Regions from separate parts of the Homo sapiens genome. Here region 1 is linked to region 2. Evidence: promoter capture Hi-C in human tissues and cell types (Jung and others, 2019). All regions are on one chromosome and are shown on one strand. Each heading gives the region's core, a stretch centred on a gene start or on the middle of the fragment in contact. The rest is flanking DNA. Distances are from core to core; before and after follow the strand shown. Region 1 overlaps C1orf198 (chromosome 1 open reading frame 198). Region 2 holds the start of GNPAT (glyceronephosphate O-acyltransferase).

The links. The method cuts DNA at HindIII sites, captures the fragments that hold promoters and counts their contacts. A contact is called where the count stands out against the background at its distance.
Region 1: a fragment that was not itself captured here is called in contact with the fragment with the promoter of GNPAT in region 2 in 3 of the 25 tissues and cell types used here (dorsolateral prefrontal cortex, pancreas and psoas muscle).

Annotation. Positions count from the first base shown.
Region 1 is chr1:230,837,804-230,840,503 of GRCh38, reverse strand. It overlaps C1orf198 (chromosome 1 open reading frame 198), which reads left to right. Exons shown (of 4, transcript NM_032800.3): 4 at 596-2,700. The coding sequence ends at 652. Among named protein-coding and RNA genes, the nearest start is that of C1orf198, 29 kb to the left of the region's middle. The HindIII fragment of the contact is 5,884 bases long and covers 1-2,700 here.
Region 2 is chr1:231,239,861-231,242,560 of GRCh38, reverse strand. It overlaps GNPAT (glyceronephosphate O-acyltransferase), which reads right to left and starts at 1,349. Exons shown (of 16, transcript NM_014236.4): 1 at 1,105-1,349. The coding sequence starts at 1,182. FSAF1 (40S small subunit processome assembly factor 1) reads left to right here and starts at 1,386. Exons shown (of 7, transcript NM_152379.4): 1 at 1,386-1,537. The coding sequence starts at 1,420. RefSeq lists enhancers at 447-1,336, 1,317-1,656. The HindIII fragment of the contact is 11,594 bases long and covers 1-2,700 here.

The DNA of each region.
Region 1 (2,700 bases), core at 109-2,608, 400 kb after region 2:
TGGTGCACGCCTGGTGCATGCCTGTAGTCCCAGCTACGTGGGAGGCCGAGGCAAGAGGATCGCTTGAGCCCCGGAGGCTGAGCTTAGAGTTTGGGAAAATCACTTCATAACCTTTCACAAGATCTGAAAGAAATAAGCTTCACATTCTTTCCACACTATGTTTACTTTCTCAACTTTACAAGTTCTTTTTTGTTGTGTTTGTGTGTGATGTTTGTTTTATATTTGAAGGAATATCTTTATCATTTGTTCTCTTATTTAGGATGAATAAATTTAAACATGGCTGTCATTCAGAAACAGAAAAGATTTATAGAAAAATACAGAGACATTGTTCTTTTCTCTGTAAGGTCTGTAAGCTGCTCACAGACATGCCTGGGGTTGAAGAGGGGTTAGTGTTGGATGCTGGCAGAGTATAGATTGCATTGAACTGTATTTAATCTTCTGATTTCAAGCACTGAGATAAATTGAGGTCAGGGAACCTCTGAGACAGAAGTAGGCTCTTTTATCTGGGTCGTTTTAAATGAGATGCTGTTTTTAGATTATACGTAACTGAAAAAAAGAGGCTCGTCTTACTTCCATGTTTTTGTCCCTTCTACAGGTCAGCTCAAGTAATGTCGTCTTGAAGACGGGATTTGATTTTCTGGACAATTGGTAAAATGTATTAGAAAAATACAATGAAGAACCCTAAAATGTTTTCCAAAGTGGTGTGGTGGAGGAGGATAAAAAGGGCCACCTTTTCCTATGTATTTTACTGGTTTCTTGACACTCTTTTCTTAATCATTTGGAAACTGGTCAATATTGCCAGATTTTTTTCTTTTTTGGTAGAACCAGATATATATGCTATTTTCAGTGATTTGATAACAGAAGTTTTCCATTTGGAATTTTTAAGGTCTGTTAATAATTCAGGAGATCTTGTAAATAAAACTTCTGTTCCCAGCTCCACCCAACTTTCCCCCTCCTCAAAGGATGTGTTTCAACCATGTCACAAAAATCATATAAGTGATTTCCATCTCCTTCTCCATTATTCCCCCTCCCCCCTCCGCTTTTTACCGTATGGGTTCCTTTTGGTGGGTGATTGAGGGTGATGTTATCAGCCATGACATCAGCATGCTGGCTGTGACCCCGGAAAGACTGGCCCCCAGCGACGTTCTCAGCCAGCGCTCGCAGCTGTCCGGGGCTTCTCTGGCAGAAGCCATGTCTCTCACATCATGTGCCAGCCTCCACCCTCACGCCATTTCCAGGGAACAGACTGCGGGTATGTAGCAGTGTAGTCTTTAACCTGCTCTGATACATATTCAGAGTATGGATTGTTGTTTAAAAAGAGTTGCATGTTTAAAGAGTTTTGTACTAGCTTTTCATTATTTTGTATCTAGATTATCAACAATGGGGCTACCACTTTCCTTGGTTTTATATCCATTTCCTCTTGGAAGTTCTTGTTGCTTATGTGACCTGTTGGTTGTTCCCCGGACTGGGCACCTACAGGAGTCAGGGCAGACGGCAGATGTGGCTGGAGGTCAGGGCTCTTCTGCTTAGTTGTGTTAGAGTCTTCCAGCATGGGACTGATGGGAGCAGTGGGCATTCTTTATCCCAAGGGCTAGCCAGGTTGCGTCATGACGGACCTTCCCCAGCCCTGACCACCACCAGAAGTGGAAGAGTGGAGTTTGCGGTCAACTCAGCAGTGCCCATGGAGACCTGCGTGGTGTCAGAGCAGCAGTATCTCTTGGAGCTGGTGCAGACACCAAGGCTGCCCAGTGGTACAACGTGGTCCACCTCCCCTAGGGAAGCTGCTGCACTCAGAGGCTGTCCTGCCCAGTGGCCCCTGAGCCGTGTGAGCCTGCAGGAGGCGTCTGAGCAGAGCCTCAAGCCCGGTATGGCGCCATCTCCATGTTGCCATCACTGCGTTCTCACCTGAAGCCTTAATCTTTGCGACACCTGCCAGTGAGCGCTCGGTTTCAATACCAAAGTGTGTCTTCTTCTTTTTTTTTTTTTTTTAAATGCCTGTTTCATAGGACCTTCTGAAATGATTTCCAGAATATTTTATCTGGCTCCAAAATAAAGCACATAGCAACTCACCTCAACCCCTCATCATCTCCAGGAAAGTTTCTGCCAAAGCTGTGGCATAGCCAACTTTTGATTTGGTTCTTGCCAATTGTTTTATGTCCCTAAACCTCATTTGGATCCTTGGGGTATAGTTTTATCTTTCTGCTTCAGTGATTTACTGTAACTTTTCAAATATTGGTTCTTTCTGTACCATTTAAGTATAGTTGATATATGTGAGGCAAAAAAAGGTTTCAGCATGGTGGTGAGGGAAAAAGGAGCTTAGAAATCCCAGTTGGCACAGCCTGGGCAAGCGCCAGCTCCCCTCAGGGCTAACGGCACTGTTCACACAGGGATCCTCAGAATCAGCGGCCACCTGCCTCCACCTTCTGCCTGGAGGGCATGGGGCTGTTGTAGAACCTATGGTAGCAAATGTATATGTATGAGTTTGTATTCTGTAGTGTTGGTGTAGCACAGAAGAAAGACCTGTGTCCTAGAGAGTAGGCCAAGGTGATCTGCCTCTTCTATTGGGAGAAATTCTAATTTCTTTCCCACTTTCTCAACAAGCCCAATATTCCCTCCAAGTTCTTCTTGGTGCTGAGGGCTGTAGGAATTATTGAAAGCTTCTGCCTCACTTAGTATCGTCTGGGGCCCAGCACCCAGCAA
Region 2 (2,700 bases), core at 100-2,599:
TCAATGAAGAGATATATCTAAATAATAAGGCTTATAGGCAGTTAGCAATCAGAAACCGAAAGGTCTTGATAGAGAGGGAACAGAAGTTTCTCCATGTTCCAAAGAATATTGGTGTCTCAATTTGAAGGAACCCATATATTCTCTTTCAAAACTGGGGTGTTTATCTTGCTCTGCTGTGTTATCCCTGTTTTGACCTTTCTGCACAAATGAACACTACATTTAAGCCAAAATTGGACAGTAATCACCAGGATATGCTAATATGCTTTTAAAATGAATTCTTTCATTTTCTCCTAAAGTAGCTAAAAACTAATTTAGTGGTTAAAAACAACAAGAAACAAACAAAAACCAAACCAGTTGCCCCAGGTCTGTGCAATCCTGAAGGCTATAAAGCTCCCATCTCATAATTTCTTCATGAAAATCGTGGGTGACCAACATCTGCCAGCCAAAAAGACCCGTTAAAACCAAGAGAGGAAGAGGGGGTTGGAGGAAAAAAAGACAAGCGGGAGAGAAGCTGGGTGGCGCTGGCTGTCCTCCAAAATGATTTGTGGAAAAGGTACAATAATGACTGGAAGACAAGAACAGGCAATAAAAATGTCTAGAAGTTCTAAATTTTCCTGAAGTGTTTAAAACTCTATTCCCACATACAAGCCAAGTGCTCTACTCCCAGGAATATAACAGCAGCATAGGGCGGGGTGCGGAGCCACAGGCTATCTCAGGGCGGGTCAAACCCGCAAGTTTCTCAGGTTTGCCCAAAAGGTAGCTCGACATGCCCTCGCTAGAGATGGGGAGACTCCAATTCTCATTCCTCATTCTCGTGTCCAGGAGCTTTCTGAAGGCCCCAGGGCCTGATAGAAAGAAAGAGAAGGAAAAAGTGGAAAGGAACCAAAGGAACCATAATCCGTAGAAACTTCCAAAAGCATGCACACACAGACACACAGCGATACACTGTTGTCCTGGAAACCAATCCAACCAACTAACCCCTCCTCGGGAGCCTAGGGGCCAGCTCTTTTGGGCAAGGGTGGTGGGCCGGAGGAATAGGGACTGGGAGAAAGGGGTACTATTTCGCGCGGCTCCGCTCTGGGCCTCTTTTCCCTGGGCGCCTACCGAGTAGAGGAGCACGACAGCGCTGGGACTGGTTGGGCCAACGGAGAAATAAGAGTTAGATGAACTGGAAGACTCCATGGTGCGGCTGCCTTCCCGGGCGGGGTCTGGGATTCTTTGCTAAGCCGTGGTGGTGCTCCTGCTGGGGGCGGTTCTTTCGCTCAGGACGGCCCTACTTCGCCTAGGGCGGCGGCACCCTCTGCAGCCGCTACACAGGATCCCGGGCGCCGCCATCTCAGCCAGGACGGAAGCCGCGCAGGGCCCTGCAGCGCATGCGCGCAGTCGCGGAACCCGGAAGCGGGGGTGCAGCGCGGCAGAATGAGGGTTGATTCCTCGGCTGACCCCACAATGTCGCAGGAGCAAGGGCCGGGGTCCTCCACGCCTCCCAGTTCTCCGACACTTCTTGACGCTCTGCTCCAGAACCTTTACGACTTTGGTGAGTGCGGGGTCCCAGGAGCCCACGTGGAGAACAGATTTGAGGAACGTGGGTCTCCTGTGTTGCCCGTCCTGGGTTGGCCTCTGCTTTGAGGCTAAAGGTTCTTGCATGTCAAGCACCCTTCGTCCCACCTGGTTCCAGTAGCGAACACATTTCTCCATCGGAAGTCACCCCTCGACCGGGCTCTGCTGAGTTATTCATCAAACCTTCCAACTCGTCCCCAAGTGTGGGGACCATCCTACTTGCTTGTAGGAAGCACCAAGGCTTTCCGATTTAAAAGTAGCCCGCTTTTCCACGTTTTCTTGAGCCCTGGGAAGTCCCCTTTCCCCATGCCACCCCCAAGACCTGCCTGACCCTGGTGCGATGGTGTCATTTCGCTCTGGGGCCTCGGGCCTGTTGGATAATACACCAGCTTCATCCTTGTGTGTCCCTCTCCAGAGACATCATAGTCCTTGGCGAGTTGTCCTTTTCACGACTTTTTTTTTTTTAAACAAGTGCGCTGATCTTTTACTCTCCGTTCTTTGTCTTGATGGGGGAAAAGGAAAATAAAAGAGCCTATTAAAGTCGCATGGCATGTCAGTAGGAAGACAGTGCCTCATACTCTGAAGAGCTTTCCCGGGAGAAGGTGACACCCTTTGCACATGCACCAAAGAAAATCATTAGATTTCAGGACAACACACATTTCTTAAATTTACAGCGTGATATTTTAAAAGCTATTTTTATTTTGGAATGACTGCTCAAAATTCTAAGTTCACCTAAACAGTAGGAATAATAGTTAAAACTGTTGAGAACTTGCCATATAGCACATGCTTTTCGTGTATTTGCTCATTTAATTTTCAACTTCATGAAATAGACACTGTCATAAATCCATGATTGCAGATGTAGAAACAAGTACTAGAAGTTCATGAAACCTGATGCAGGTTGTCTGACTGGTAATTTTTGCAGAGCCTGGGTTCTGATTCTAGCCCCAGACCCCATGCTTGTATTAACTAGCATTTCTGTGCCCTTGGACATATTGGAGGACAGAGAAGACTTAGTCTCTGACCTTGAGAAGTTTAAAATCTAGAGGAAAAGACTATTCTGCAAAATAATATAGTTCATGTCAACACAGGCTGGAAATCATGGTAGGAGCTCTGAAGGCATTGAATGTGTCTATTCATTTT